Regions from separate parts of the Homo sapiens genome. Here regions 1 and 3 are each linked to region 2. The links are contacts of gene promoters, found by promoter capture Hi-C in human tissues and cell types (Jung and others, 2019). All regions are on one chromosome and are shown on one strand. The core of a region is centred on a gene start or on the middle of the fragment in contact, and the rest is flanking DNA. Distances in the headings are between cores, read along the strand shown. Region 1 has its middle 13 kb from the start of NKX2-5. Region 2 holds the start of ATP6V0E1 (ATPase H+ transporting V0 subunit e1). Region 3 holds the start of MIR8056 (microRNA 8056).

The links. The method cuts DNA at HindIII sites, captures the fragments that hold promoters and counts their contacts. A contact is called where the count stands out against the background at its distance.
Region 1: a fragment that was not itself captured here is called in contact with the fragment with the promoter of ATP6V0E1 in region 2 in 1 of the 25 tissues and cell types used here (aorta).
Region 3: a fragment that was not itself captured here is called in contact with the fragment with the promoter of ATP6V0E1 in region 2 in 1 of the 25 tissues and cell types used here (hippocampus).

The regions. Positions count from the first base shown.
Region 1 is chr5:173,246,245-173,250,608 of GRCh38, reverse strand. No RefSeq gene overlaps it. Among named protein-coding and RNA genes, the nearest start is that of NKX2-5, 13 kb to the right of the region's middle. The HindIII fragment of the contact is 3,285 bases long and covers 92-3,376 here.
Region 2 is chr5:172,981,294-172,985,895 of GRCh38, reverse strand. ATP6V0E1 (ATPase H+ transporting V0 subunit e1) reads right to left here and starts at 2,125. Exons shown (of 4, transcript NM_003945.4): 1 at 1,932-2,125. The coding sequence starts at 2,035. RefSeq lists a silencer at 2,071-2,250 and an enhancer at 2,016-2,310. The HindIII fragment of the contact is 13,025 bases long and covers 1-4,602 here.
Region 3 is chr5:173,344,230-173,348,838 of GRCh38, reverse strand. It overlaps MIR8056 (microRNA 8056), which reads right to left and starts at 1,384; the gene lies at 1,303-1,384. The HindIII fragment of the contact is 6,275 bases long and covers 1-4,609 here.

The sequences.
Region 1 (4,364 bases), core at 485-2,984, 270 kb before region 2:
GCAGTAGAAAAATTGCTGTATTGAAAGCGGGAGGACATAGACCCTACCTCTCAATCAGAAGAGTGGCAAAGAATCTGAGGCTATATTTTACAATGTTATCTTCTTTAGTTCTCACAAATAATCTTTTGACAAAGTACAAGTATTATCCCATTTGACAGATAAGAACACTGAGGTTCAGGGAGATTAAACAATTCCATGCAGTAGGTTGCAGCCCTACTCCAGAGCCTGAGTCTGCCCATCAGATTTCCCGCCTGGCTGATGTTCTCCTTTCTTCTGGATCCTCCCCAAGTCCCCTCCACCCACCAGCCCAAACTCAAGGCACCTCTTCTTCCTCACTTCTTTCTGTTGGATTACCTGCTCTCAATTTCCTTCTTCCCTGGGAGTAGCCAGTGGCACTCCCTCCTCCATTCCATCTTTGCCAGCCTGGGGCCCAGGATGGAAGCTTCAAGGAAGGCAGTCCCCCAGGTTTCCCCAGTCTCTGAAGCCAGCTACTTACAGACTCTTCATACTCTACAAGGCTAGAGTGGGATAGGCCTCTGTCCTCTGGAATCCCCACTGCCTCGGGCCAGCTGTAAGGGAGGTTAGGGCCCTGACATTGCTCTTGACCAGTCCCAACTGGGAATCAAACACCCCACCCCGTGTTTGAGTGGCCCCTTCGTACATTATCATCAAGTGTCTTCAACTAAAAAATGAACGTTTTGAAAAGACAAACGGGAGAATGGCAAAAATATTTGCAGCACAAAATAAAATGACAAAGGGTTCCTAAGATCTCAATAGATCAAAGATGAAAACAGATAATACCTTTTCTTTTCAATTTTTTCCCTAACTCCCCAAACTTGTTAAGATAACACCTCTTTAAAAAGAAAAATACAAACGGGTTTAAAACACTGAAAAATAGGCCAAGCACAGTGGCCCACATCTGTAATCCCAGCACTGTGGGAGGCCAATGTAGGAGGACCGCTTGAGCCCAAGGAGTTCCAGATCAGCCTGGGCAACGTGGCTAGACCCTGTCTCTACAAAAATTTTAAAAACTAGTCAGTCATGGTGGTGGTGCACGCCTGTAGTCCCAGCTACTCAGAAGGCTGAGACTGAAGGATCACTCGAGCCCAGGAGTTCAAGACCAGCCTGGGAAACATAGGGAGACCCCTCTCTCTCCACAAAAAATTTAAAAACTAGCCAGGTGTGGTGGCAAACACCTGTAGTCCCAGCTACTCAGAAGGCTGAGGTGGGAGGATCACTTGAGCCTGGAAAGTAGAGGCTACAGTGAGCCGTGATCACACCACTGCACTCCAGCCTGGGAGACAGAGTGAGACCCTGTCAAATAAATAAACAAACAAATAATGATTAAAATAACTAAAACTAATTTTATGCTATTTTCACCTTGTATTTTGTAAAGATTTTTAAAATGAAAATTCCCAAATTGCTTTCCAGAAGGATTGTTCAAAATTATACCCACATTTCACTCATGTTCTCTTCCTGAACAGCAGCAATCAGGAAAAACTCCCTGGAAGAGGCAGGGCTTAGACTGAGATTTTAAAAGGGGGTAGGCCTCAGCTCTCCTTCCAGGTTTACACTGTGCATGTTTCCAAACTCAAAGAATTTACACTCTTCTGGTTGCATTGCTCTGTAAAGATCTGACCCACTACTATGTATTAAAAAGGGATGCATGATAATGAATTCAGCCCTCTCTGTAAAATCCAAAGGGTCCTATTGCAGTTTCCCCCATTTAATGGGTCATTAAAATATTCTTGGGAAGGACAAAGCTTTAGTTAACTATGAGAAAAACAAGCAGAACCAGCCCTGGATTCTGTCTTCAAAGATTTTACCATGTTGGCAGGCCTGGTAGTCCAGAGCCCAAGAAAATATCCCAGCCACAGATACCCTAGATGTAGACTAGCAGTGCTACAACCTCAAGGTCAGAAGTATGTCACTAGACCAGAGCCAAAAATAGGTGCTATATCATTAAGAGAGTAAAAATGCAAACCACAGACAGGGTGACATTATTCACAATAAGCATATAACCCACAGGGGACTCCTATCTGAATATGCAAAGAACTCTCACTAATCAATAAGAAAAAGGCAAAAGATTTAAACAGGCACTTCACAAAAAAAGTATATTCAAAAAATCAATAAACATTTGAAAAGATCCTCAATTCACTAGTTATTAGGGAAAGGTGAAATAAAACCACAATGAGACACCCCCACGCCCCCACCAGAACGGCTTAAAATCTAAAACATGTAATACCGAATGTTTGCAAGGATGCGGAGAAACTGCCATTTTTGTACACTGCCAGTATGAGGGTAAATCTGTACAACCAGGTTGGAAAACGCTGAGTAGAATGTACTCTAGCTGGATTTGTGAATATCATATGATCCAGCAATTCTACTCCTAGAAATTTACCCAACAGAAATGTGTAAACATGTTCACCAAAAGACACACGCAAGACAATTCATAGAGGCACTCACTATTCCTAACAGTCAAAAACTGGAAACTACCCAAATGTCCATCAGCAGAGAATGGCGATAAACAGTAGCATCTTCACATAATGAAATGTTTCGACAGCAATGAAAAGTAGCTAGCTACAACTACAAACAATGTGATTGAACCTCACAAACATATACTAAGTAAAATTATCAGACACAAAGAGTGTATATACTGTATTTAGATACATGTGAAGTCTGAAAACAGGCAAAACTATTCTGTTGTTAGAAGTCAGAATAGTTACTGCCCTGCCGGGAAACAGAACTCAAGAGGGCTTAGTAGCTACTGGTAATGTTCTGCTTCCTGAACTGCATGCTAGTGAGGCAGCTGTTATTTTGTGCAGTCCTGTGTTACACTGGAGTTAAAAGTTCCCCCAAAATCAGAAAGTGTTCAGCAAGTGGAAGCAAGTACACTGCTGGACTTGGCTGGGAACTTAGGGGATCCCATAATTTGTCACAGGCACAAGCAAAGCCAGCTTTCTTGCCCTAAGTAGCATCTCCCAGAGTCAGGATCCAGGAATGGTTTGGCAGGCAGGATGCAAGGCAGGATTCGGGAGTGGCTGAGAGTTTTCCCAGTGCCACCTGGTCCCACCTCCCCTCTCCCACTTCTAATGAACGGGCAGTACAGCTTCTGTTAGGAAAAGAGCCTGGGTCCCTAGGCGATGACTGTCACATCTAGGGAGAGGGCGATGCACTGGGGTCCTCACCTACACCCCCCTTGGCTGTCTCACCACTCTGAATTATAAATGCCCGGACTTCCTCATCTCCCACCCACACATCTTGTTAGAAGAAAAGAAACGAATCTCCCAGGGCTCCTTCTAACAAAAGTGTTCATTCAGAGTAGCCCTGCTTGAGGGCCCCTGGCCTGGAGGAGTGGGAGAGGCAGCCCTCCCCCTCCAGGAGAGTCATCTCCAGGGCTACCCAGGACTGAGTAACTAGGTCACCAGAGTAACCAAAGAGGCCAGGAGACAAGGGCATTCAAGCATTGGGCCAGGAATGGGAGGGTGATGTCCAGTTCATGTTCTTCTGGTTCCAGCATAGCACACGGTGCAAATGAACCATCATGCAAGAAAACACAGCTAGTCTCCCTTCCTCCACCAGCAACCTTTGGTTACTGATAATAATCAAATTCACTATTTTTTTTTTTTTTTAACTAAGGCTGAGATAATGTCAAAGGACCACAGGGAATAGGAAGGCCTAAACCAAGGCCTTAAAGAATGAGAAGAAGATTCATTCAAAAAAGCCTCCTAAGGGAGGAAGATGTTTTTCCCTCCTTTACTTTTCTACAGTAATTTTTATTTTGGATAAATAAACCCTGATAAATGAGAACCCACGCTTTCCCAAGGCCAGGCTGTGTTTTGGTGGGTGGTCCTCCGTCAGCAGTTGGAGTAATCCAGAGTGATCCCGGGCAAGTCGGAAGGGAGCAAGTCTGTGTTGAAGCCAAGAGGTATCTTTCCCTACAGCTTCTCAAGAGAGGGGATCCCCGTGGGTAATTGTGAGGCTGGAAACACCGAGAGGCTGACTCCCATGTTTATAGAGGTCATTGATGGGTTTGTGCATGGAAGGCAGGAGGAGACTGAGAGTGCTTTGTTATTGTTATTTGGTTTATTTTTATTTTTAAAAAACTGGATACAGCCGACTTTGAATACAGAAAATGAAAAATGAGGAGATTTGCATAACAGCGCTTGGACGTCTGAAGGGGCCCAGGGCCTAGCGGCTGGTGGGGCACCTAGAAACACTTCTGCCTGCAGATCGCGGAGGGTTAGCCACAGGAAGGGGTCGCCTAGGCTGGCCACAGGGCCTTTGCTGTGACTGAAGGACCAGCCTTGGCGGCACCTTCTTTCCCCTCTGCCCTGCACTCCGGCCCCGCCGGAGTCAGAGCT
Region 2 (4,602 bases), core at 876-3,375:
TGTACCATCTGTTTAAGTAAACTCTTTGTTCACACAAAAGCCCAACTAACACATTTCTCAAACATAGTCCTTTTGTTAAGTGACACATGTCTATATATCACTAGCTGGTCAAATACCTGAATCATGACACTCTCTAGGGCTAAGTGGAAACAGGATGGGTTTCATTACCCTGGATAATGGCAATGACATCCCAAGGAAGGGGAGAGAATGGTCTTTAAGAAAGGAATTGTCAGTGCTATTAGTACATTAATAAATGCTTCTTTGAGTACAAAGGCCATAAAGGCAGACAGTAGGGTAATGAAACAGTTGAAGATATAAACACAACAAAGAAGCACTTTGTTGTTCGCTAACTCCAGTAGGAAAAACAAGTCTAATTAACTTTGGTAAATACAATTGCTTTAATAATGCCAGAATTCTGACTCTGTCCATCAACCTCTATAGGTAGGAGAGATGACCCCATATAACTGGTGTTACCAGGGAGGAGGAACTTGATACTTAAAAATGATAAAAATTCATCTACCATGTATCTTTTAAAAAAAAATAATTTTAGACTAATAAAGCAAATGTATCCCAGGGAGCAAAAGGGGTTCAGGTCACAAAATATTAGGGAAGTAGTAAAAATCTTTTTCTTTCTTTTTTTTTTTTTTTTTTGAGACGGAGTCTCGCTCTGTCGCCCAGGCTGGAGTGCAGTGGCGCGATCTCGGCTCACTGCAAGCTCTGCCTCCTGGGTTCACGCCATTCTCCTGCCTCAGCCTCCCGAGTAGCTGGGATTACAGGCGCCCGCCACCACGCCCGGCTAATTTTTTGTGTTTTTAGTAGAGACGGGTTTCACCGTGTTAGCCAGGATGGTCTCGATCTCCTGACCTCGTGATCCGCCCGCCTTGGCCTCCCAAAGTGCTGGGATTACAGGCGTGAGCCACGGCACCTGGCCAAAAATCTTTTTCTTTTAATAAAGACAATAGAACTATTCACTCAACAGGTATTTATTGGGTGCCTCCTGTGCATACAAGGTACTATGAAAACCAGGCACTATGAAGCCACCAATTAGGTTCAAGAATAAAGCAAGAGATGGTGTTTCTGACAAACTGACTTCAGTCGAAGTTTCACCTCTCATCATCTTGAACTGAGAAAAAAATGACTGAGAAGCAAAAGAGGAACCAGGAAGAGGGTGTTCCAAGGCTCCTTTGAAGATTAAGCCTCTATTTTATACTACAGTTAAAAAGTTTAATTCCAAAAGAGACAAAGCTCTAACCAACAAAGAAGTCTGGAAAAACAAAATCTTTCTTAGCCAATCATTCTAAGCACTTCTTACACTCACATACAAGAGCCGGAGCGCCCTCCAAAAGGCATGACGCAGGGGTTTCTCAACAATACCTCCTGCTCTTTGGTAATTAATCTCGCTTTAGATCAGGCCCCAACCGCCTCCTGGCGCCCACTAGATGCAAGGCCTGGGCTCAATGTTGTCGAAGGAGCTTGTTCTGTACGCAACCGCGACAGCATGGGAGGCAGAGAAGCCAATTTCTGTTTTATTTATTTGATCCTTAAGTTCAGGCAAACGAGGCCTCATGTGGGTGGAAGGCAGGGCTAAAGGGGGACAGTCGACTAGGGACAAACCCCAGTTTCTCCCAGATTCGGCCTGCTCATTTCCGACTGCACCTCCCCACACAGGACTATGATGAGAAAAAATTCCCCTGAAACTCGTTTCCAAGGGGGGTCCACCAAAGGTCACCCTCCACTCGCTCAGGCCGGAGGACACTGAAGCTGCTGCGAAAAGGAACACAAGGAGTTCCGCCGGGTCGGGGGCCTGACTCTGCAGCGCGGGGGGCGCCCATGCAACGTTCTCTGACCCGTGTGGGGGTCGTGCCTTTCCCCGCCCCGGCCTGCTAGCTCCTCACCGCCCGTTCCTCCCAAGGCGGGCCTCACGCACTTACCCCCGGTTAGGACCCTTAGGGATGAACCAAGGCACCAAGAAGCCGACGAAGCCCCAGAACACGCTCATCACAATGAGAGGCACAGTGAGGCCGTGATACGCCATGGTCGCCGCCTGAGCGCCAACCCCTACCCCGTCGCCTCACTCGGATCCCACCAGGAAGTGTCAATAGCTGACCGCGTGACCAGCGTGTGCAAGCCCCGCCTCCCGCGCCCCCACGTGACCCGCGCGCCGGCCTCCGCCCCTCGGGGAGCCCAGAGGCAGAGCCCCGCCTTCGCCTGGCTGTCTCCTGGCTGCAGCTCCTTGGAGGCATGTCGCTCACCCCAGAGCTAGGGATTCGGTCACCCGGGGCTCAGCAAAGTGTTCTGATGAGAACTTGGCCCTTTTAGACAAAGAGTGTAGTTATCTACAGCCTCATCTACTTATGCAACAGACATAGAGAACTTAACAATAGTTGTCCCTTACTATTCTGAATTCCCGTGTGCCTGGCACTGGGCCATGATCTTTAAGTTCATGAGCCCCAGGCCGGGTGCGGTGGCTCACGCCTGTAATCCCAGCACTTTGGCAGGCTGAGGCAGGCGGATCACTTGAGGTCAGGAGTTCGAGACCAGCCTGGCCAACATGGTGTAACCCTGTCTCTACTAAAAATACAAAAATTAGCTGGGTGTGGTGGTGCGCGCCTGTGGTCCCAGCTACTCAGGAGGCTGAGGCAGGAGAATCAATTGAACTCGGGAGGTGGAGGTTGCAGTGAGCCGAGATTGCGCCACTGCACTCCAGCCTGGGCAACAGAACAACACTCTGTCTCAAAAGAAAAAAAAAAAAGTGCATGAGCCCGTGTTGAACTCCTCACTTCAGCCTATGAGGTAATTGTAATTATTATCCCCACTTTGCAGTTGAAGAAACTGAGGCCCAGGGAAGAGGATAAGGATCTTGCCCAAAGTCACATAGTAAGTGGCAGGGCCAGGATTCAACCCCTGATTATCTGATTTTCAAGGCCAGAGCTCTTAACTAGCGCACCACTATTTATCTTGTGTGCTGTGCCAGGCTCTGGAGTTACAGAAGTCAATCAGGCACCCCTGAGGGAGTTCACATTCTGGGGAGCAGATGACCTTGCAAACAGGCGACTCAATGCAGTGTGAAAGTAAGTGGACGACCCTGCAAGGCTTTCTACCCAACTCGTCCTTGCTGAGCCTTGAAAGACAAGTAGAAATTAGCCAGAATGGTAAGAAGAAAAACAGGCCAGGCATGGTGGCTCACACCTGTAATCCCAGCACTTTGGGAGGCCGAGGCGGGCAGATCACCTGAGGTCAGTAGTTCAAGACTAGCCTGGGCAACATGGTGAAATCCCATCTCTACTAAAAATACAAAAATTGGCCAGGTATGCACCTGTAGTCCCAGCCACTCAGGAGGCTGAGGAACAAGAACCGCTTGAATCCCTGGGAGGCAGAGGTTATAATGAGCTGAGATCGCACCACTGCACTCCAGCCTTGGCGACAGAGTGAAACTCTGCCTCAAAAAAAAAAAAAAAAAGAAAGAAAGAAAAAGAAAGGTAAAACAGTTTTGTTTGTTTGTTTGTTTTTTGAGACAGGGCCTTGCTCTGTCACCCAGGCTGGAGTGCAGTGGTGCTCCATAGCTCACTGCTGCCTGGAACTCCCGGGCTCAAGCCATCCTTCTGCCTCAGCCTCCTGAGGAGCTGGGACTACAGGTGTGCACCACCACACCAGCTAATTTTTAAAATGTTTTGTAGAGACAGAGCCTCGCTATGTTGCCCCGGTGGGTCTTAAACTCCTGGCCTGAAGGGATCCTCCACCTCAGCCTCCCAAAGTGCCGGGATTACTGGCATAAGCCACCGTGCTGAGCTGATAAACAGGGCTTAGAACGCTTGCTGAGAATTTTCACATATGTTAGTTATAGTATGCGCCAAGCTTGGAATAGACAAGGAAGCCAGTTCTCAGAGAGGTTGAGGAGCTTGATGATAAAGCTTACAGGTGAAAGCAAGATAGAAAGCAGGTCTTTAAATGCAATGTGCTTTACCAGGGACCATGGTTTCCTTGCAGTAGCCACATTGCATTAACTCCTGATTTCTTTCATCAAGTAGAATGGATTCCTGTATTAAACGGGAAACTGGACCAATAATCTTCAACATCTGTACCAACTTTTCGGACATGATTCTAAGCCTTTAACCTGATCAGCAATGTAGAAAACTAGTTTGTCTCCTTTGTGCTCATAATGCTTCCCCAAAACTTAGCCCCAGCAGAAATCCTATGGTCCTTAAGTTCTAGCCCAAACACCGCCTTCTCCAAGACCCATTTCATCCTGTTAGCGCATCTCTTTGGCCTTGTTGTATATGTATCTTGACCAACCCTCTACTAGAGGGCCAACTCCTTGAGAATAGGCACTGTTTCACTGATCTTTGTTTCCGGGAGGACTTTATACATAGAATGTGCTCAATAAATAACTGTGCAACTGAATTGAGTAGCTAAGAAGGGATGAGGTCAGAACAAAATTAGAGAAAGAAGTTCATTTCTACTTTCTCCTTCCTTCCTTCCTTCCTTCCTTCCTTCCTTCCTTCCTTCCTTCCTCTCTCTTTCTTTCTTTCTTTTTTCTTTTTTTGATGGAATCTCACTCTGTTGCCCAGGCTGGAGTGCAGTAGCATGACAATGGCTCGCTGC
Region 3 (4,609 bases), core at 1,089-3,588, 360 kb before region 2:
AAGGCCTCAGCACCTTCGGTGTCTGCTGAGGGCTGTTCTCTGCTTCCAGGGTGGTATCACAAACACCGTATCCTCCCAGGTGGAAGAGATAGAAGGGCAAAAGGAGTAAACTCTCCCCCAAGCCCTTTAAAATGTCACTAATCAGGCCAGGTGTGGTGGCTCATGCCTGTAATCCCAGCACTTTGGGAGGCCAAGGCAGGTGGATGACCTGAGGTCCAGAGTTCAAGACCAGCCTGACCAACATCATGAAACCCCCGTCTCTACTAAAAATACAAAAAATTAGCTGGGCATGGTGGCGCATGCCTGTAATCCCAGCTACTTGGGAGGCTGAGGCAGGAAAATCACTTGAACCCGGGAGACGGAGGTTGCAGTGAGCCAAGATCATGCCATCGTACTCCAGCATGGGCAACAAGAGCAAAACTCTGTTTCAAAAAAAAAAATGGCACTAATCTCACCTATGAGGTCAGAGCCCTGAGGGCCTGATCACTTTCCAAGGGACCCACCTTTTAATATCCCCATCTTGGGTGTTAAGTTCCAACATATGAATTTTGGAAAGACACACACATTCAAACCCTACCAATCTCCTAATTTTCTCTAAGATATAAGTTTGTTTTAGGTTTGGAGACCATGCTGGGCAAGGAGATAGGAAGAGGGAGAATAAGAAGAAAAGGTAGTTAAGGACTATTTCAGAGCCTTTGGCCTCAAACACCAAAAGAATAAACCAACTGTTTAGATTACTGTTTCGTTGTTGTTGTTGTTGCTGCTGCTGCTGTTGCTGTTGTTGTTTGTTGGAGATGGGCTCCTGCTCTGTCACCCAAGCTGGAGTGCAGTGGCACAATCGTAGCTCACTGCAGCCTCAAACTCCTGGGCTCAAGTGATCCTCCCACCTTAGCCTCCCGAGTAGCTGGGACTACAGATACGCACCACCATACCCAGCTATTTTTTTTTTTAATTTTTAGTAGATACAGGGTCTCACCATGTTGCCCACACTGGTCTCAAACTTCTGACCTCAAGTGGTCCACCCGCCTCGGCCTCCCAAAGTGCTGGGATTACAAGCATGAGCCACCACACCTGGCCAGGAATGTGTTTCTAATCAGCTTAAAATCACCACTCTCCCTGATTTACCACTCAGTCCCACCACGTGCATTCATTCCGCAAATAGTAAGTGACCACCTACCATGTGTTTATCTCTCCTAGGAGCTGAGGGAGAGCCCAGTAAGTACAAAAGGGGTACCTATCCTCAAGAACCACACTGAGGGTGCAACCTGAAGCTCTGTAACTCCACAGCCACTGCATGAGCAAAGTCTCAAGGATGCATCCAGACAATCCACGAACAGGAATAGGCCAGGAGGCACAGCTCCTAGAGGCTGGATGCTCAGAGAAGGCTTCAGAGGAGGTAAGTGAATTAGGGTTTGCCAGAGAAACAGAACCAGTAATACAGTTGACCTTTGAACAACACAGGTTTGAAGTACATAAGCCTACTTATACCTGACATTTTTCAGTAAATGTATTGGAAAATTTTTTGAATTTGAAATTCTCACTAACTGTGTAGCCTAGAAATACCAAAAAAACAAAAAAGGTGTGTCATGAATGCATAAAACATGTAGATAGTAGTCTATTTAATCACTTATTACCATAAAATATACACAATCTATTATAAAAAGTTAAAATTTCTCAAAACTTACACATACAAAATCGACCACAGGCACATTCACATTCTAGAGAAATGTAAACAAATGTAAAGATGTAATATTAAATAATTGCATAAAATTGACTGTAGTACATCCTGTACTGCTGTGATAATTATATAGACATCTTCTGTCTTCTGCAATGAGCTCAAGTGTTTCGAGTATCCACTTAAAATGCTGTGTGACTGTGACACCAATCGTCCACGTGTGAGCAGTTCATCCCTCCAGTAAATTGCATATTGCAGTAAAAAGTGATCTCTTGTGGTACCTGTGTATTTTTCACTGTGTTTAGTGCAACCTTAAATAACACCATGGGGCCCATACGAGGTGCCACTGATGATGCTGGAAGTGCTCCCCAGAAGCAGAGAAAAGCCATGACATCACAAGAAAAAGCCGACTTGCTTGAGATGTACTGTAGATTGAGGTCTGCAGCTACAGCTGCCTGACATTTCAGATAGACAATTCATCTTGCAAACAGATGGTAAGAACTTACTTACGGTATTGGTAAATACAGTACAGTCCTGTACATGTATTTTCTCTTTCTTATAATTTTCCTAATATTTTCTTTTTTCACACTATCTCAGAAGAATCAAATTTCATTGTCTCTAGCTTACTTTATTGTCAGAATACAGTATATTTTACAGTATATAATATTGTAGGAATACAGTATATAACATACAAAATGTATGTTAATGGACTGTTGGTGTTATCAGTGAGGCTTCTGGTCAACAGTAGGCTATTAGTAGTTATGTTTCTGAGGCGTTGATATGGTTTGACTCTGTGTTCCCAATCAAATCTCATGTCAAATTATAATTCCCAACGTTGGGGGAGAGGCCTCGTGGGAGGTGATTGGATCATGGGGGCAGATTTCCCCTTGCTGTTCATGACAGTGAGTGAGTTCTTACGATATCTGGTTGTTTAAAAGTGTGTAGCACTTCCCCCTTCACTCCCCTTCTGCTTGGCCATGGTAAGGTGTGCTTGCTTCCTCTTTGCCTTCTGCCATGATTGTAAGTTTCCTGAGGCCACCTAATGATGCTTCCTGTACAGCCTGCAGAACTGTGAGTCAATTAAAGCTCTTTTCTTCATATATTGCCCAGTCTCAGGTAGTTCTTTATAGCGGTATGAGAACAGACTAATACAGGAGTCAAGAGTTATACTTGGATTTTCAGCTGCAGGAAGGGTGGGCACCCCTAATCCCGAGTTGTTCAAGGGCCAACTGCATATGTGCGGGGCAGTGGGGGTAGTGTGGAGAGAGAGAGGGATTTCTTGTAAGGAACTGGCTCACACGATGGTAGAAGCTGGAAAGTCTGGCCTGCTAGGACAAGCCAGTAGGCTGAAAACTCGGACAGAAGTTGAGGCTGCAGCCTTAAGGCAGAGTTTCTCTAAGGAGACCTCGCTTTTGCTCTTAAGGCCTTCTGCTGAATAGATGGGTCCACCCACATCATCGAGGTTATCTTCTCTACTTAAAGTCAACTGATTGCAGCTGTTAACCACGTCAATAAAATACCTTCACAGCAACACCTAGACTAGTGTTTGATGAAATAACTGGGTAAACAACCTAGCCAAGTTGACACATAAAACTAACCATCACAGGAGGCCTCCCAATAAGGAACAAGAAAAGGCAGCATGAGGGTGTGCAGCCTGGGCCTAGACAAATGGTAGGTCAGAGGGCTGATGGCCACGGGATGAAAACAGGGCCCATGAAGCAGGACCTGCTGTCTGGGAGTCACTCGAACTCCCTGCTGAGAAGTTTGCCACCCACGCCGCAGCCTCTGGGAGCTGCCAAAAGTTCCCCATGATACAGGCGCTACCACAATCTGGGAAGTCTGAGGATGAGCCGGAAGGAACAGGCCACTGAGAAATCTGCTCTATAAACCCGAGGGCAAGACCAGAACCCAGGTTGGGGAGGGGAGTGGAGGGACTGAGCGCAGGAAGGATGCCCCACATGAAGGACGCCCCTGGGCAGAAGCAGCAGCACGAGGAGACAGAGCCAGCTCCAGTGCAGGGTGAGGAGTCTGACCCTTGATGTTGACTGAGACCACTGGGGACATGCAGACAGACGCCGAACACAGGTGGGGACCAGGTGGGCTACTTGGCAATCAGTGATAGAAAACTGCTGGTGCCATGGAAACTGATGGAGTCTCCAGGGAAGAGTGCAAGAGAAAAGGTCAGAGAAATTGGCCAAGGGGCTAGGAGTGACCCTAGAAATAAAGACAAGCCTGGCCCTCAAGCCTTCTCCCGCATGTGACGGCACCAGGTGCAGTCAAGGATGGGGGAGACACAGCCTGGAGGAGAGTTTCCTCTATGTGGAATCAGCCCCTCTGGAGCCTTGAGGCTGCCAGCAGAGGCCCCAGGAGAGGATGAGTAGACTTGCACCAGGCTGAATGGAAGTCCCTGGACACCTAGGAGGATGGGCACCGGGAGGCTCAGGGGTTCCTGAAAGCAGAGTTGTTGGTAACAGGGATACAGACAGCAGTAACCTGGGAGAAAGGGTGAGGTGCATGGAGGATGGGGAAGGACTGGGCGCACAGGGCCTTGTTACTTGACAGAGGTGAAAGGAAGTGGGAGGAGCAGATGCAAATTAGATGATACTCACACAGCCAGGATACAGGAGACCCAGGCTCAAGTTCAGAGTGAAAGGTTAGGCCAGGCACCGTGGCTCACACCTGTAATCCCAGCACTTTGGGAGGCCAAGGCCGGTGGATCACTTGAGGTCAGAAGTTCAAGACCAGGCTGGCCCACATGGTGAAACCCCGTCTCTGCTAAAAATAAAAAAATTAGCTGGATGTGGTGGTACACACCTGTAATCCTAGCTACTCAGGAGACTGAGGCAGGAAAATCACTTGAACCCAGGAGACGGAGGTTGCGGTAAGCCAAGATCACGCCACTGCACTTAAGCCTGGGTGACAGAGCGAGACTCC